Linked DNA regions of Homo sapiens: all the other regions are linked to region 1. Evidence: promoter capture Hi-C in 16 types of primary human blood cells and fetal thymus (Javierre and others, 2016). All regions are on one chromosome and are shown on one strand. The core of a region is centred on a gene start or on the middle of the fragment in contact, and the rest is flanking DNA. Distances in the headings are between cores, read along the strand shown.

What was found. The method cuts DNA at HindIII sites, captures the fragments that hold promoters and counts their contacts. A CHiCAGO score of 5 or more calls a contact.
Region 2: a contact is called between a fragment that was not itself captured here and the fragment with the promoter of TTC17 in region 1, in 1 of 17 cell types (naive CD8 T cells). The highest score is 5.7, in naive CD8 T cells.
Region 3: a fragment that was not itself captured here is called in contact with the fragment with the promoter of TTC17 in region 1 in 1 of 17 cell types (monocytes); the score reaches 5.5 in monocytes.
Region 4: a contact is called between a fragment that was not itself captured here and the fragment with the promoter of TTC17 in region 1, in 1 of 17 cell types (monocytes). The highest score is 5.4, in monocytes.
Region 5: a fragment that was not itself captured here is called in contact with the fragment with the promoter of TTC17 in region 1 in 8 of 17 cell types (non-activated CD4 T cells, total B cells, naive CD8 T cells and 5 more); the score reaches 10.2 in non-activated CD4 T cells.
Region 6: a fragment that was not itself captured here is called in contact with the fragment with the promoter of TTC17 in region 1 in 10 of 17 cell types (monocytes, non-activated CD4 T cells, naive CD4 T cells and 7 more); the score reaches 11.5 in monocytes.

The regions. Positions count from the first base shown.
Region 1 is chr11:43,357,394-43,360,377 of GRCh38, forward strand. It overlaps TTC17 (tetratricopeptide repeat domain 17), which reads left to right and starts at 1,527. Exons shown (of 24, transcript NM_018259.6): 1 at 1,527-1,720. The coding sequence starts at 1,562. RefSeq lists an enhancer at 1,386-1,655 and a silencer at 1,786-1,865. The HindIII fragment of the contact is 2,829 bases long and covers 1,108-2,984 here.
Region 2 is chr11:44,102,976-44,105,959 of GRCh38, forward strand. All of the region lies in intron 1 of EXT2 (exostosin glycosyltransferase 2), which reads left to right. Among named protein-coding and RNA genes, the nearest start is that of EXT2, 8.8 kb to the left of the region's middle. The HindIII fragment of the contact is 774 bases long and covers 1,348-2,121 here.
Region 3 is chr11:44,085,149-44,088,132 of GRCh38, forward strand. No RefSeq gene overlaps it. Among named protein-coding and RNA genes, the nearest start is that of EXT2, 9.0 kb to the right of the region's middle. The HindIII fragment of the contact is 9,778 bases long and covers 1-2,984 here.
Region 4 is chr11:44,058,934-44,061,917 of GRCh38, forward strand. ACCSL (1-aminocyclopropane-1-carboxylate synthase homolog (inactive) like) reads left to right here. Exons shown (of 14, transcript NM_001031854.2): 14 at 905-1,044. The coding sequence ends at 987. Among named protein-coding and RNA genes, the nearest start is that of ACCS, 5.8 kb to the right of the region's middle. The HindIII fragment of the contact is 798 bases long and covers 1,178-1,975 here.
Region 5 is chr11:43,893,141-43,896,124 of GRCh38, forward strand. All of the region lies in intron 7 of ALKBH3 (alkB homolog 3, alpha-ketoglutarate dependent dioxygenase), which reads left to right. Among named protein-coding and RNA genes, the nearest start is that of ALKBH3, 14 kb to the left of the region's middle. The HindIII fragment of the contact is 1,006 bases long and covers 956-1,961 here.
Region 6 is chr11:43,870,051-43,873,034 of GRCh38, forward strand. No RefSeq gene overlaps it. Among named protein-coding and RNA genes, the nearest start is that of ALKBH3, 9.3 kb to the right of the region's middle. The HindIII fragment of the contact is 5,336 bases long and covers 1-2,984 here.

The DNA.
Region 1 (2,984 bases), core at 277-2,776:
CCAGTCTTGAACTCCTGACCTCAGTGATCCATCCACCTCGGCCTCCCAAAGTGCTGGGATTACAGGCGTGAGCCACCGCGCCCGGCCAACTTCACCTTTTCACTTATTATTCTGCCTGAACCAGCACCTGAGCTCCAAACCTTTTTTTCACCTGGTTGGTTGCTCTCTCCTGTACATATGCATTCATACACCCCCATTATCCTGTATTTTAATTGTTAACCTGCCAATAATATCTCACTATATTGCACACTGCCCAATGGTTACATTTCCATACCCAGAGACTATCAGAGTACCAGGCAAAAAGCAAATAAGCCATATATTTTTAATGAAATGAATGTTCAGTCTTCAGGCCTTTAAGAAAAGCTGTTCCTGGAATGAAGAAAAAAAAAACACCAATGCTGTGGTTGTTTCTACATTTCTATAGCGTGGTGTTTAAACACTTAGCAACTGCTCTCCTGCATACACTTGTGTAGAGAAGTGGTTAAACAATATTCTCATCCTTCTTTTCCCAAGGAGAAAACCAAAAGCATACCAACCTTAAATAACACACACAGAGGGCAATCTTGAAAGACCTAAAATGACATATCTAGCAAGAAGCTGGCAGCCAAGCTTGACGCCTGCCTGCCTGCCTGTTGGTTCACTAGAAGAAAGTGGTTCTCAAACTTTAATATGTATACCAGTCACCTGAGGCTATTGTTAAAATGTAGTCTGATTCAGCAGGTTGCGGGGGAGAGGGAGAAGAGCCGAGAATGTGCAGGTCTAAAAAGCTCCCAGGTGATGCCAATGTTTCTGGTCTCCAGACCTAGACCTCTAGCTTAGACCTGTGCTGACCAGTACGTTAGCCACATGCGGGTATTAAGCCCCTGAAATATGACTAGATAAGCTGTCAGTGTAACATGCCGATTTCCAAGACTTAGTTAAAAAAAAAAAAACTAAACTATCTCAATGATTTGTACAGACCACATTGAATTAATATTTTGTGTACTTTGAGTTAAATAAAATGTACTAGTAGGGTTACTTCCCTCTATATTTTACATTCCACACGTGGCTCGCATTATAGTGCTACTGGACAGCGGTGCCCTAAACTAACAACCGTCTCCATTCTGAAGCTTCCACTATTGTGAGACTTTAAGAATAAAAGCAACACCTCTCTTCCCATAGGTGGTTCGAAAGCACACCTTTTGTTCCCCAACTATCTACCAGAAATAAAACGAAAAAACAAAGATTTAAAAAACAATAAAATTGAGTCCTTTCACTTCTGCTTAAGCGCCACCTAAGCCACTGCTTTTGTCTCCCTCCGGTTCCCACGCTCCGAGATCGTATCACCCACAGAAAAACAATAACTAAAAAGCGGTCTCCATCCCTGAAGCCAAGCTGGGAGAGTAGCCGAAGGTCGCGCTTCCTGGCCGCCAAAACCGAGGTGGAGGAAACTTGGTAGTCAGCGAGCTACGCCCTCTCGGCTCCTCCTCCTGCTCCTCCTCCAGGGCCGACCTCTTCAAGATGGCGGGCGCCGGAGACTAGCTTCCGCTTCCGGTGTGAGCGGCCCGGCCGGGGGGGCAAGATGGCGGCGGCAGTAGGGGTTCGTGGCCGGTACGAGCTGCCGCCTTGCTCCGGCCCAGGCTGGCTCCTCAGCCTTTCCGCCTTGCTGAGTGTGGCGGCACGAGGGGCCTTCGCCACCACGCACTGGGTCGTCACGGAGGACGGGAAAATCCAGCAGCAGGTAGCGGCCGGGGCGTCCCTCTTCTCCCGTGCCCGCCCTCGCCCCGGGGGGATTACCCTGCTTGGCCCCTGGCTGTTGGGCTCCGCGCGGCCCCGCCCCCAGCCTACCCTCACAGGGAGGTGGCACCGCGACCTCGGACTCCCTGCATTCGGACCAGGCAGGCACTTCCCGCTCCCCACTTGTCTCCTGGTCCTCGTTTGGCCCCCTAGAAGTTCTCACCCTTCCACCTCGCGGGCCGCGCGCCGCGTGGGGAAGAGTCGCCCAGCTGCGGGAGACGGGCCCTACGGACCTTTTTTTAGCTCGGGGTTTAGAAATCACAGATTTCAGGATTCCTGCCTTTGGTGCCTCTCGGGTTCACGCGTCACCGGCCCTCCCCGAGGAAATAGAAAGCAGGTGGCAGCTCCAGGGTGTGCGCGAGTCCCATGGTATGACAGCTTCTGGACCCCTAGCCTGTGGACCATTCGTGCTGCTCCCCTAGTCTCGTCTACCACATGGTGGATTTCGTTTCTGGTTGTGTTGGTTTCAGCTTGTACCGTTACTCAGGTCAGCAGTGGCTCATTAGAAACAACATAGAAACACTCCCCTTCAGAAGGAATGCTTGAAGATGCCGCTGGTGGCGTTGCCTGCATCTTTTCAGCTGTTACTGCCCTCGTTTCCCAGTGCACTTTGCTTTGTTTCTTTACCTAGTTCTTGTGACCCAGCCTCGCATGGAGGATATGCGATTTCCTGGATTCTTGTATGCCTGAACTAATTCCTCAGAGGCGAGACTGCTTTTCTTATATAACTTTATGATTGCCTGCGTTTTGTAAATGCTGCTGATGCCTAACGAGTGCGTGTGTGTGTTCCGCTACAGAATATTGGTAAACTTACTGACTTCGAACACTTGAGGACAATCTTGAAGTGTCTAGCAAACATTTAGAAAGTGAATTGTGTGCCCCATGCAATTTAGCCCACTGATCTAAAACGTTTTAACTAGTGTGGTGGGAAATTACTGGTCCTTTGGATTGTGTGTAATGAATCATGATAGGAACACATTCCAACGTTTAAGGTGAGGTTTAGATTTAGATTTGCCGTGTAATGTAATTGCAAATTCTATCTCAAGTAAGTTAAGTATAACTAAAAATCCGCCTAGGTATTCATGAGTGGTTTTCAGCATATCTAAGAAAAGACCGTGTTCCTATTGGGTAACGTTTTCTATATGACATACATAAAGAACAGTTTCCTTTTCATTGCCATACTATCTGAGACTTTAAATATATGTGTA
Region 2 (2,984 bases), core at 485-2,984, 750 kb after region 1:
TTCTTCAGGCTTGCAGCTTGTCTTTTTACTTCCTTATTGTGTTTTTGATGGAAAATTCTTAATGGTTTCTGGTTTTTGTGTTTTGGAAATCATTCTCTGCCAGATGTCATTGATATTCTCTATTGTGTTCTAAATATTTTATAGTTTTTCCTTTTACATTTAGTTTTAAGATATACCTTGAATAGATTTTTCTCCCCTTTGGCTGCTTTTAATATTCTTCTTTAACTTTCTTTTTAGCAGTTTGGCTTTGATATATCTAGGTAGCATTTTCTTTATATATATATATGTTCTGTTCTGAGTTGAGCATCTTGAGTCTGTGAATTGATGTATTTTATCATTTTTGGAAAAACTTAAAAAAACACAGTTGGATTATCCCATCGGCTTCTACATTCAGTCTGTTGCAGTGTCATATGTCATGTAGCCTCTGGAAAATGGAAGTGAATAAAGCAAATGTCAGTATTAAACTAGTATAAGCCCTTTGAAAGGGCCTGGGATGCCTGAAGCATACTTCAAGAACCAGTGTTCTAAGATTTTGGTATGAAGCATTTGCTAGCCTCCTAAACTGAGCTTTGAAGTGTTTCCTCTTTTTTTTCTGAACTCTGGAATAATTTGTGGAAAATTGGAATTATTATTTCTTGAATATTTGGTAGAACTTGGAAAATTTTCTGGGCCTGGAATTTTCTTTATAGGAAGATTTTTAAACTTTTGATTCAGTGTCTTTAATGTTATAGAGCTACTCAGAGTTGCTGTTTCTCCTTGAGATGCTTTTGGTAAGTATATTTTAAAATAATTTTTCCATGTTATCTGAGTTTTCAAATGTACTGGCATAAATTCATTGATACCATCTTATCTTTTAAATATATGCAGCATTTAGAGTTATGTTCCCCTTTTCAGGTATTTATTTGCACCTTTTTCCTTGAATTCTTGATTAATCTTACCAGAATTTTATTAGTCTGTTTTTAAACAAACAACTTTTAGCCTTGTTGACCATTTCTATTTTGTTTTTTAATTAATCTCTGTGCTTTTATTTATTATTTTCTTCTGTTATCTTTGGTTTTACTTTGTTGTGATATGTCTTTTTTATAGTTAATCTGCAACTCATAAAGATTTGTGAAGCTCATGTGTGAATACAGTTTTTGTTCCCTTAACCTCAATTTTGTCATACATAGAAGCTATTTTTCAAGCTATGGAGGACCCATTATTGGGTGGTATAATTGATCTAGTAGGTTATGGCCAGAATTTTTTAAAAAGCAATAGAATAACAGAGTAGAAAAATGGAGGGTTCATTGCGTGTTCTGTGGCTAACACTGTGTACTCACAGTACATAGCTTAAATGTTGTTTTTTGAAGCTTTATTTAAAATATCCATATACACACATATATATATCTGTCTATATTGGGTCACAATATAACATATATTTCTTACTGTCAATTTTAGTTTAAAAAAAGTTTTGAAAAACACTATTAAAGGGTAGTTTGTCTAATATTAATAAAGGTTTAAAACCAGATGGCACAAAATACTTGAGGAGCTTGTTTTTAAATGACATATTCTGTGGCCCTATTTTAAACTTACTGATAACAGCCTCCAGTGGTGGGGCCAAGGAATCTGTTTTAACAAACTCTTGTGCTTCTTACCCTTCAGGTGTTGGGGAACCACTGATTCAAGTATACACATAGACCTTGAGAGCTTCTTGGGAAGTTCTAACATGGGCCAGCGGAGGGCAGCTCCTTGCCTGCATTTGTCCCAAAACTTCCTGTCTTCAAACTCCAGGAGGGATATGCAGAATGGCAAGGAAGCCATACCATAGGGTGGGCCTGCAGCTGGTAGGGGATGGGAGCAGGCAGGAATATTCTGCTTACTGTTAGAATGATAGAAAAAGTGAAATCGCTGTCATGCCACATTTCTGTCATAGAACAATTAGAATATATTGAGTGACTGATGTATATACTCCAAAGATGATAATCTTTTAAGCTCAAAATGTATGAATTTTCATGTATTAGTCAATGATAGGCAAATTCCTTGTTATGTTCCAGTTTCTGGTCTTAGAGAGATATGACTTGAAATGATTCATGACCATTTAGCATATTTTACCCCCAAAACTGAAAGTGATTGCAACATTCAAGCTTGGCAATACTCAGCTCGCTAGGCAGGAAGCAGTTTACCATGTGGGCACTGATGGGGAGAGCTCCATTTATCCGAAGCAAAAATGGTTGATAACTCTAAGATGGTCTATGAGCTTTTCAGTTACTTCCCATTATATTAATAGCTTTCCTGGAAGATCCGTGAGTAGAATGATACCATTTTGTTTATTTATTTTTATTTTATTTTATTTTTTGAGAAAGAGTCGTGCTCTATTGCCCAGGCTGGAGTGCAGTGGCACAATCTTGGTTCACTGCACCTCCGCCTCCCAGGTTTAAGTGACTGTCTTGCCTCAGCCTCCCAAGTAGCTGGGATTACAGGTGTCTGCCATCATGCCTGGCTAATTTTTGTATTTTTAGTAGAGACAGGGTTTCACCATGTTGGCTAGGCTGGTCTTGAACTCCTGATCTCAGGTGATCTGTCTGCCTTGGCCTCCCAAAGTGCTGGGATTATAGGCATGAGCCACTGTGCCCAGCTGTCTTTTTGTGGATTGGTATTTTGACATGCAGGATGCCAAAATAGCTTGTTGCAGTAACATGGTAAGTATGTGGCAGATGATGCAGCCACACTCAAGGCTCTGCCCTCCCCCGAAACAGTATCCGGGAATCATATAGGAGAGGCTTGTTTGGTAAGGATCTTAAAATGTGGTCTACATGGGAACTCTACATTTTTAGCTGAGGACTACAAATTTTCTTTACATCTCAGTCAATAATGCTTATTGGCTGTTTTATATATCTATAGCTGTATAACAAACCACCCCAAAACTTAGAAGCTTTAAACAACAACAGTCATTTATTTGCTGATGATTGTGGAATCTATGCAGAGCTTGGTGGGGATGGCTCATC
Region 3 (2,984 bases), core at 349-2,848, 730 kb after region 1:
TATTTATTTTATTTTATTTTAATTTATTTGAGACAGAGTCTCACTCTGTTGCTCAGGCTGGAGTGCAATGGTGTGATCTTTGTTCACTGCAACCTCCGCCTCGCATGTTCAAGTGATTCTCGTGCCTCAGCCTCCCAAGTAGCTGGAATTACAGGCATGCGCCACCACACCTAGCTAATTTGCATTTTTAGTAGAGACAGGGTTTCACCATGTTGGCCAGGCTGGTCTCAAACTCCTGACCTCAAGTGATCCACCTGACTTGGCCTCCCAAAGTGCTGGGATTATGGGCATGAGCTACCTCACCTGGCCTGCTCTATTTTTGAAAGAATTTCACTGGGTGTAGGATTACAGGTTAATAGTTATTTTCTGACTTCCATTGTCCCTGTCAAGTAGTCAGCTGTCAGTCTGTGGCTTCTTCAAAGGTGATCTGTTTCCTCTGTCTCAATGCCTTTAAGACATACTCTGATCATTGATGTTATACAGTGTTACTATTATATATCTCGATGGTTTCTTTTTACTGATCTTATTTTGGGTATTGGGATTCTTGCATCTGTGGATTCTTTCAGCAGCTCTGGAAAGTTCTCATCAAATATTTCTTCTGCCTCATTCTCCCTCTTCTCTCCCTCTGGAATTCCTATTAAATGTATGATATAGATCAACTTGCTCTGTCTTCATGTCTCCTAATCTCTTTTTCATATTTTCTTTCTCATCTTTCTGTGCTACATTCAGGGTAATTTGTTTTGGTCTATTTTTCAGTTTAATAATTCTTTCTTTAGCTGGATGTAATCTGCTTTAATCTATTTGAGTTTTAAATTTAAGCAAATATATTTTTATTAGTAGAAGTTCTAAAAGTTATTCTTTATACCTCAAGTTTGTTTTTCATTTTTTAAGATGTAATAAGCATAATAATAATAATAAGTTTATTTTTTGAGACAGAGTCTCACTCTGTTGCCCAGGCTGGAATGGTGAAGTGCAGTGGCATGATCTCAGCTCAGTACAACCTCTGTCTCCCAGGTTCAAGCGATTCTCCTGCCTCAGCCTCTAAAGTAGGTAGGATTACAGGTGTGCACCACCACACCTGGCTAATTTTTGGCATTTTTAGTAGAGATGAGGTTTTGCCATGTTGGCCAGGCTGGTCTCAAACTCCTGGCCTTAAGTGGTCCACTTGCCTCAGACTCCGAAAGTGCTGGGATTACAGGCGGGAACCACGATACCCGGCCAATTATTTTTATATACCTCTATGCATCTTTCTATGTATGTATTATTGTATGTATCTATTTCCAGTATTCCAGTGTCTGAAATCTTTGCTGGTTTGTTTCTGCTATTCTGTCTCATGCCTTGATTCTTTGTGAGTTTAGTGATTTTTTATGGTGAGCTGTACATTTTTGGGGGAAATTTATTTGTTGGAATTCTTTGAAGTCTTAGATAAAGACAGATTCCTCAAGAGAGTTTTTGTGTGTTTATTTCTTCCAGGCAACTAGAGGCAATGCCAGTCTTCAAACTAAATATTTAGATTTTTTTGTTGTTGTTGTTGCCATCAGCTGCTGTGAATTTGGCCTGGAAATCTAGTCTGGCAAGAGCCAGCTTTTGGTTACAACTTCTCAGGTTAACTTCCCTCCTTTAACACCAAGGTTTGAGACAGCTTTCCTTGCAGTCTTCTGAAGAGGGAGGAAAGGATGTGAATCTGGTTTAGCCTTATTTTGTGGAGTTAGCTTTTTGGAGTCCTGGCTTTATTGGAGAAGAATTTCCTATTAGATTTCTCATCTCTGGTCAGCCTCCAGGAGATTGGGAAAATAGAAGCTCGAGATCATTGTTTTGGCAAATGCCTCAAGATGAAAGCCAGCATCATAGTTGTCACTCAGTCCCATGCCTGATCATTCCTTTGTTTTGTTCCAGCTAATGCATGTGCTCATGAAAATTGTGTTTTGTTTTGTTTTGTTTTTTGAGATGGAGTTTTGCTCTTGCTGTTCAGGCTGGAGTGCAATGGTGTAATCCTGGCTTACTGCAACCTCCGTCTCCTGGGTTCAAGTGAGTCTCCATCCTCAGCCTCCCAAGTAGCTGGGACTACAGGTGCCCGCCACCACATCCGGCTAATTTTTTTTTTTTTCAGACAGAGTCTCTCTCTGTCGCCCAGGCTGGAGTGCTGTGGCGGGATCTTGGCTCACTGCAAGCTCCACCTCCCAGGTTCATGCCATTCTCCTGCCTCAGCCCCCCGAGTAGCTGGGACTACAGGCTCCTGCCACCACACCTGGCTAATATTTTGTATTTTTTTTTAGTAGAGATGGGGTTTCACCATGTTAGCCATGATGGTCTTGATCTCCTGACCTCATGATCCACTATTTTTTTTATTTTTTTATTTTTAGTAGAGACAGGGTTTCACCATGTTGGCCAGGCTGGTCATGAACTGCTGACCTCAGATGATCCCCTTGCCTCGGCTTACCAAAGTGCTGGGAGTACAGGCTGAGCCATCACGCCTGGCCTGAACATTGTGTTTCAGCATTGTTACTTGTTTTCAGTGTATGTGGTGGGGAGAGGGGGTCTTTCTTACTGTAAATGACTATGTGGGCTTTCCTTTTGCACTCTCATTTAATCCTGACTTCATCACAAGGCAGATATTGCTGTCCTGGTTATGTTTTTAAGTAGAATTTCCATGGTGTATAGCTTTTCACTATTATGAATAATGCTGCTGTGAACATTCTTGAATATGACTTTTTGGGACACATACATACACATTTCCTTTCACTATGTACCTGCTAGATAATGGGGTAAGCTCAGCTTTAGTAAATACTGCCAGTTTCCTAATATGATTCTACCGATGTATAGAAGTGTATAAAAATTCTATTAGCTCCTCATCCTTGCCAACTTTTAGGTATTATCAGGTAAAAAAGGTATGTAGAAGTATCTCATTGTAGGCTGGGCATGGTGGCTCATGTCTGTAATCCCAGCACTTTGGGAGGCTGTGGTGAGTGGATCACCTGAGGTCA
Region 4 (2,984 bases), core at 327-2,826, 700 kb after region 1:
ACCACAAGCTAAAAAGTAGTACTCTGAGGCCAGGTGCGGTGTCTTATGCCTGTAATCCCAGCACTTTGGGAGGCCGAGGTGGGTGGATCATGAGGTCAGGAGTTCCAGACCAGCCTGGCCAGCATGGTAAAACCCTGTCTCTACTAAAAATACAAAAAATTAGCCACGCATGGTGGCGCACGCCTGTAATCCCAGCTACTCGGGGGGCTGAGGCAGGAGAATTGCTTGAACCTGGGAGGTGGAGGTTGCAGTGAGCTGAGATTGCGCCACTGCACTCCAGCCTGGGCGACAGAGTGAGACTGTTTCAAGAAAACAAAAACAAACAAACAAAACCCGAAAAAAGTAGTACTCTGCCCTTGTGGGACTGGCAGCCTAGTAAGTGAGATGGATAGGCAGATGACCATGGAAGTCCCTGTATGCCATACTAGAGAGTTTAGATTCTCCTCTGAGGTTATAGAGAATAGGACATTCATGTGAACATTTATTTATTGCATTCCACTACATGCCAGATGCTGTTCTACCTGCTGGGAATATAGCAGTGAATTGTTCATTCTCATGAAGGTTTTTGTTACAGAATTCTTTTGAGCTAGCATAGAAGATAGGCTGAGTGAAGAGACACTAGAGGCAAATAGAAATCCTGATTAGGCCAAGGCCATAAGCCCGAGAGTACAGGCTTTGATACAAGACATTGAGATGTCTCGCAGGCTGACATAACAATGATATTCAAAAAGAAATCAGGGATGCAACATGTAGACTTGGAAATCCATCCCAAAGGTGGGAGGGCTGAAGTTCAGGATCCCTGAATGAGAGGCTTTTATGGTTGACCATGACCTGGGTATGTCTGGGACCCACCAGCAAACCTACTAAATCACTATTTCTCTCTGTCCCCATTTGAACCCTCTAGCTATGCGTCGGTTCTGTGATGTGCTGCAGGAGCAGAAGGAGGCTTTGATAGTGAAGCAGTTGGAGGATGCAATGAGGGAGTAGGCCGTCTGCCTCCCAACCAGCAGTTCCAGCCCATCACTTGCTCAGGGACCCCCTAATGTCAGCCTCTGGCCCAGAAGGCCAGGGTGTCTTTTTGTCAGTGTTGCGATGGAGAAAATGGTGGGCTCCTCCAGGAAGATCTCATCTTACCCGGTTGTCACCCTCCTTAAGCTGAGTGCCTGCTGTCTTTGGAAGCTTTCCATCTTTTTAGTCTTTGCTAGCCATTATATATGCAAAATGTTTTTATCGGGGTTGGGGTGGAAAGGCCTAGAGACACCTAGAGAAATAAAGGGAGTTCTCTGGGCCCCTATTTAGATGGTTTATTTTTATATTCAGTACCTAATAAATTCTATACTTTTAAATTCTAGGCCCATCTTATTTTCTTGCTTATATTCTTCATAATCATCTTTGGAAGCCAGATGATTTTCTGTCCTCCTTAATTTTTAAATTCTAAGGCAGGTTCTATGTAAAGAATACTGTCTAGAGCAGGCCAGAAAAAGAAAGAAGTCATCCTTAACTGATGGGCCATTTTCCAGGTGTTGGATGCAATGTTCTATAAGATTCTTATGAAATCACATCCACTTCCACATGACCTGCTAAGAGGCAGGTGGGAGTATAATTGCAGGTATTCCTGCTTCCAAATACTAGAGTTTGTTCCACTTTTACCTTCCCAAAAGGCTTTTAAAGTCTCTTGCTGGGTACGGTGGCTCATGCCTGTAATCCCAGCACTTTGGGAGGCTGAGGCCAGAGAATGGCTTGAGGCCAGGTGTTTGAGACCAGCCTGAGCAACCGAGACCCTGTCTCTACAAAAAATAAAATTAGCTGGGTGTGGTGATGTGTGCCTCTAGTCCCAGCTATTCAGGAGGCTGAGGTGGGAGGCTCGCTTAAATCTAGGAGACCAAGCCTGCAGTGAACCATATCGTGCCACTGCATTCCAGCCTGGTTATAGAGTAAGACCCTGTCTCTACAAAAAAGAAAAAAAAATCTGACAAGCTTGGTGTCTTAGTCCCTTCATAATATGAAAATATCACAAAGTGGATGGCTTAGAAACAAATCTTTCTCACAGTTCTGGAGGCTGGAAAGGCCGAGTTCAAGGCCCTGGGAGATTTGGCATCTGGTGAGGGTCCCATCTTCCCAGTGTCATCTCATGTGGCAGAAGAGGTGAGAGGTCTTCCTCTGCCTTCATGACCCAATCACTTTTCAAAGGGCTCACCTTCTAATACCATCACCTTGGGGGTTAGGATTTCAAATATGAATGTTGGGGGGACACATTCAGTTCGTAGCATCTGGGGTTGTCCATTTCCATTTCTAATGTTTTCAGCTGTTCAAATTAAGCCACCCATCAGTTTCTCTGCAAAGCCCTTGCATGTCAGAGCACTGATACTGTGAAGTGGGCAGAGAAGGGACTACTACGATTTTATGGATGAAGAAAGAGCTCACAGTACCAACTGGTGGCTTTAGTCGCTTGGGTTTGTGGCCGTACTTGCTCCGAATCCAAATTTGTTTATTCTTGTCAGTTTTCTTGTGTGTGTGTGTGTATGTGTGTGTTTTTGTTGTTGTTGTTGTTGTTGTTGTGAGACTGAGTCTCACTCTGTCGCCCAGGTTGGAGTGCAGTGTCACAATCTCGGCTCACTGCAACCTCTGCTGCTGGTTCAGCGATTCTCCTGCCTCTGCCTCCCAAGCAGCTGGGACTACAGGCACGTGCCACCTCGCCCAGCTAATTTTTATATCTTTAGTAGAGACAGGGTTTTACCATGTTGGCCAGGCTTGTCTCAAACGCCTGACCTCAAGTGATCCGCCTGCCTCGGCCTCCCAAAGTGCTGGGATTACAAGCTGAGCCACCGCTCCTGACCGATATAGCTCTTTTTAAAAAACCTCTAGTATAACGTTGAATAAAAGTGGTTGAGAGGACAGCCTGCCTTGTTCTCAGTCTTAGTAGCATTGAGTGCAATCTTCTGCTCTTGAGTATAACGTTACTGTATTTTTCATTCTGTCCCTTA
Region 5 (2,984 bases), core at 209-2,708, 540 kb after region 1:
GAAGTTCTTTCTCATTCATTCTAGTTAATCTTTTAAAACAAGATTTCTCAACCTCAGTAGTATTGCCATTTTGGGCTGGATAATTCTTTCTTGTGGGTCTATCCCTTGCATTGTAGGATGTTTACCAGTATGCATGACCTCCACCTGTTAGATGTCAGTGGCACCCCTCACCCAGCTGTGACAACCAAAACCAACTCAAGACATTGTTAAACATCTGGGGGGGCAAAATTGCCCCTGGTTAAGAACCAGTGGGAATAAACACAGGATCTGCTGAGTAAAGTAGCCTCTTATTGTCCGACATTTTGGGAACATTTTGACAACTCTTCAAAATAATTTATGACAATCCTTTTTTTTAAATGTTGGTAGTATGTGCTTATTGAAAATTTAGAAACTGCACATAAACAGGAAGAATATTAAAATTCTTGATAATTCTACCCCATGTTTTGGTTCCAATCTTGTTATTTTAGACAAATATACCTAGAGAATCTTTTTTTCTGTAACAATAAAATAGTCCAGGTGTGGTGGCTCATGTCTATAATCCCAACACTTTGGGAGGTCAAGGTGGAAGGATTGCTTGAGGCCAGGAGTTCATAACCAGCCTGGACAACATAATGTGGTCAAATTAGAATTCTTTAATTCAGATTTGGCTGGCTCATAACTTTGCCTTTATTGGTGATATATTTAGTTCATTTATATACTGTCTTGAACAAAAAAGAGCTACCCTTTCTCAGATTTTTATTTATGTTCATTTTAAATTTAGATATAGGGTCTTGTTATGTTGCCCAGGCTGGTGTTGAACACCTGGGCTCAAGTGCTCCTCCTGCCTCAGCTTCCTTTAATAGTTGTGATTATCGGCCACACCCCGACCTCTCAGAATTTTTTAAAGGTGGATTCACTAATGTATGTATATATATGTTGGGAGTACTTGTTTAGTTTAAAAATTGTCATTACCTGAAGCTTAATATCCCGTACAAAATAAGCAATTTCAGTCATGGGTTTTTAAACTTGTTTTAGTTTTTGTTCAAACTAAATCTCACATGAGCCCAGTGTATAAAACAGATCAGAGCCTTGACTGGCTGGGAGTCCCACCAACTTGACCTCTCCTTTCTTCTCCTGTAGACCCAGAGGTACCTCTGAGGTACCTAGAACTCTATACAACACTGTTTGAAATCCACTGAATAGGTCCTTTCACTTCTGTGATTCATATTTTTTGTATTCTTTTCCTAAAATGTCTTTTAAGGATAAAATGTCTTCACTGAACAGTGAGATAATGCTGAATTTTAATTTAGACATTCAGTTCTGAGGCATCTGAATATAGAGTATTGGTTGGAGAGTCTAAATTAATCCTCTAGTTCATTATCCCCTTTTTTCTTCCTTTTCTCACTGTTTCAGTACCAAAAATAACCCAGAAAAAAAATACCTACTTAGAAACATAACACAAACTTTATGCTATCTCAGTATTCAGTCCCTGAGCAAGTCAGGGAAGTGCTAATTAGATTCCCAGTAACATTGGAGAAAAAAGCCCATCTTCCTCCTTTACATTCTTGTTTTTCTTGTTAAGCGTGTAATTCTAGCATCTGATCTTTATCGCTATGAAGATAAATTTAAAGCTGTAAAGTAAATAGGAAATACAGCCTGCTGACATTATTATTGGAATTTCACTTTGGAATTTATTCTCTTGAACAAAGGTTTATTTAATATTTTTGTTTTATGAGTGTGGATCTCATGTTATGTGTTTTTCTACCACAATAAAAAAGGAGAACAAGAGATAAAGAAACTTCCAACTTCTGGAGGCTTCTTGAGTCTCCCCAGGTGTCCCATTAGCCAACTATTTGTTGTTTTTGCTGTTTATTTTTTAAAATCCTCTGCTTAGAATATAATATTATAATGTAGTATCCACAACAAGGAATTCCATCTTTAACCATGGTTTTCACATCAGAGTAAAGCTGAGTGATTATGTAAGCTTCCCTGGCAGTTTTACCTGACAACCATGGGATATACTTAATAATAGTAACAATAATATTCCTTCCTTTGCTGAACGTCTGTTTCTTCACTGCGAAACATATAACATGATATGGTTTGGCTGTGTCCCCACGCAAGTCTCACCTTGAATTGTAATAATCCCCGTGTATCAAGGGCAGGGCCAGGTGGAGATAATTGAATCATGGGGGCATTTTCCCCCTTACTGTTCTCATGGTAGTGAATAAGTCTCATGAGATCTGATGGTTTTATAAATGGGAGTTCCCTGCACATGCGCTCTTGCCTGCTGCCATGTAAGATGTGACTTTGCTCCTCCTTTGTCTTCTGCCTTGATTGTGAGGCCTCCGCAGCTATGTGGAACTGTCAGTCCATTGAACCTCTTTTTGTTGGTAAATTACCCAGTCTTGGGTATGTCTTTATTAGCAGCATGAGAACAGACTAATGCAATAGACATTCAAGGAGTTCCCTAAAGTAACAGTTCTTAGAGTATAATCTGTAGATCCCTGGAGAGGGTTCATGAAACCTTTTTTGGGAATCTACAAGTAAAACTATTTTCATAATAATACTAAGTCTGTATGGTATTTTCACTGTGTTGGGTTTGCACTGATGGTAATGGTGGATAAAGCTGCCAGCACCTTAGCATGAATCAAGCCATTGTCACCAAACTCTGCTAGTAGTCATTGTGTTCGTCATCATCATGCGCTTCCAGTGTAAACTTTAAAAAATGCCAGTTTCATTTAAGAATGTCTATTGATGAAGTAGTAAACATTATTCATTTTATTAAATCTTGGTCTTTGAGTATGTGTCTTCCCAATAGTCTTCTTAATGAAATTAAAAGTGTACCTAAAGTACTCCAGCTACAAACTAAAGTGTGATTGTTTGAGCTGTAAGCTGAACTAGCTACTTTTGTTGTGGATTGTTTTTGCTTAAAATACAACGGGCAGACCGACTGTGGTTATTCAAACTTGAGTATTTGGCAGACATTTCCTCATAAATGAGTGACG
Region 6 (2,984 bases), core at 182-2,681, 510 kb after region 1:
GATTACACTGCTACCAACTCTTCTTTTTTGAAGTCACTGAAAGACACCAGCAATGAGGTCCCAAGAAATGGTTCATGTCATTTTAGGAACAGTCCTATCTTTCCTAATTTGGCTTTCATTCTGGCATGTATTTGCAGAGAGGTGGCACGGTGGCATCATGTGGCATTGTGGTTCAGTCTTCTTTGTAAAATGGGTCTAATAATAATAATGCCTGTGTAACTGGGTTCTTAAAATTAGATCAGTGGGCCGGGCGCGGTGGCTCACGCCTGTAATCCCAGCACTTTGGGAGGCCGAGGCGAGTGGATCATGAGGTCAGGAGATCGAGACCATCCTGGCTAACAAGGTGAAACCCCGTCTCTACTAAAAATACAAAAAATTAGCCGGGCGCGGTGGCGGGCGCCTGTAGTCCCAGCTACTCGGGAGGCTGAGGCAGGAGAATGGCGTGAACCCGGGAAGCGGAGCTTGCAGTGAGCCGAGATTGCGCCACTGCAGTCCGCAGTCCGGCCTGGGCGACAGAGCGAGACTCCGTCTCAAAAAAAAAAAAAAAAAAAAAAAAAAAAAAAAAAAAATTAGATCAGTGTAGGCATGTAAGTGATTGGAACAGCACTTGGCATGTAAGAAGTGCTCATGAAATGTTAACTAATGTTATTATTTGCTATTATTTAGAAATAAGAATGTGTAAATGTTGCCTACTCCTTTTAGGGATAATGTAACTATCAGAATATCTTCAAGCTGTCTGAATGCTACATAATTTAAAACCTTGACATAATTCCCTATACTCCATAGTGACTTTGCTAATGACTATAACCTCTAGTGATCTCTTGTTCCCCAAATTTTTGTCTGCCCTCCATAATTTCACATCCAATTACACTGTTTTTTAATTGTATCTCACACAGTTTACCCTGTGGTTCACTGGATGGAGATTTTACCTCCTGCAGCATCTACAATCGTGCTGGGCATTGAACAGAAGGTGTTCCTGTCTGGAGTCTGGGGAAATGTCCTCTACCCTTCAATGTTGTTGAAAGTTGGCAGAGAGCTGAAAGCCTCATAGCAAACATGCTGCAGGGTTGGCAGATTCCCTTCCCACCCTCCTTGCTCAAGCTGGGAGCTGCTAAACCTTTGGCAGTGAGACATAGGCTGGGAATTTCTCTATGCAACACCTTCACTGAGAGCTATTAGCATGATGTGCCATTATTTTCCTTGGGTTGGATTTTCTCAGGAATACAGCAGCAGGCACTCCACAAGCTGCACATGATTGAAACAGGGAACGCTTGGCAAGAGAGTGGTGTGAAAATCGGCAACTGAAAATAGGCTACAGGGTGTAGCTCACTCAGAATCACTGTTAAGAGCTACCAGCACTTAAAGCATCTATCAGCTTTGCCATCCAGGGTATGAGATAACTGTTGAGTGGGAAGTGATCACCTCTGGAAAACAGACATAGGGAAAGGATACAGAATATGGTGCAGGTACCTGCAAAATGGAACAGAGCATTGTTAAAAATGCAAATTACTGCCAGGTGCGGGTGGCTCACGCCTGTAATCCTAACATTTTGGGAGGCTGAGGCGGGCAGATCACCTGAGGTCAGGAGTTCAAGACACAGTGAAACCCTGTCTCTACTAAAGTACAAAAAATTAGCCAGGTGTGGCAGCCAGGAGGCTGAGGCAGGAGAATTGCTTGAACCCAGGAGGCGGAGGTTGCAGTGAGCCAAGACCATGCCACTGCACTCCAGCCTGGGCGACGAAGCGAGACTATGTTTCAAAAAAAAAAAAAAAAATGCACATTGCTGGGCCCTGCCCCAGACCTACTAACTGAGAATCCTGATGGGCTCCCAGAATGTGCATTTTTACAGCATCCCCTAGTGATTCTCATGCAGTTACCCTTCCAACCACATGCTGAGAAATGCTGGCTTCAAAGTAGCAAAGCAACCAGCAACATCTACTTTAGGAAGGCAGTCTTGGATGAGGACAAACTAGGAGGAGCAAGCAATACGTAAGTGATGGGCTAGGAGAGCAAGGACCCAACTCAGAGGCAAATCAGTGATGTACAGAGGCCAACCCGGGGCCCAGGCAGTTAGCCTTTGCTTTCAACTCCTGATGCCACATTCCCACTGCAACCATCAGGACTCAATCAGGAGACAGAAGCTACATAATCATCTGGACAGGAAAGAAATAGGTCGGGCGCGGTGGCTCACGCCTATAATCCTAGCACCATGAGAGGCCGAGGCGGGTGGATCACTTGAGGTCAGGAATTCAAGACCAGCCTGGCCAACATAGCAAAATCCTGTCTCTACTAAAAATAAAAGAAAAAATTAGCTGGGCGTGGTGGTGCACATCTGTAATCCCAGCTACTCGGAGGGCTGAGGCAGGAGAATCACTTGAACCCAAGTGATGGAGGTTGCAGTGAGCTGAGATTGCACCACCACACTCCAGCCTGCCAGCCTGGGTAAAAGAGCGAGACTCTGTTGAAAAGAAAAGAAGAACAGAAAAGAAAAGAAGAAAAGAAAGAAAGAATTATTAACCATAATAGAGGGTTACTGACAAAGGGAAAAAGAGAACTCTAAGAACACAAGCGTAAGCCAAAAAGTATCCGAAACAGGTCTCCATCAATTTAGAGGTTTATTTTTGCCAAGGTTAAGAACACATCTGGAAGAAAAGAACATGGAATAACAGAAAGTCTGTGGTCTGTGCCTTTCTCCAAAGATGATTTTGAGGGCTTTAATAGTTAAAGGGGAAAAGTGTGCTGGAGGGGAAAGAGAGAGGGTCTGGTGATCCACGATACTAGAGAAAAGGAGCAGGTAGGGGAATAGTCAATTATGTATTCATCTCACACCCAGTAAATTGGCATTTTACATTAGATAGGGTGAACATAGAGGAGCTACCCATGCAGATATTTAACCTTGATCGGTAGCTCTCTGTTGGGGAACAAAAGGAAAGGCAGCTTCTTGCATGACTCAGCTTTGAGCTTAATTTTTCCTTTTGGCAGAG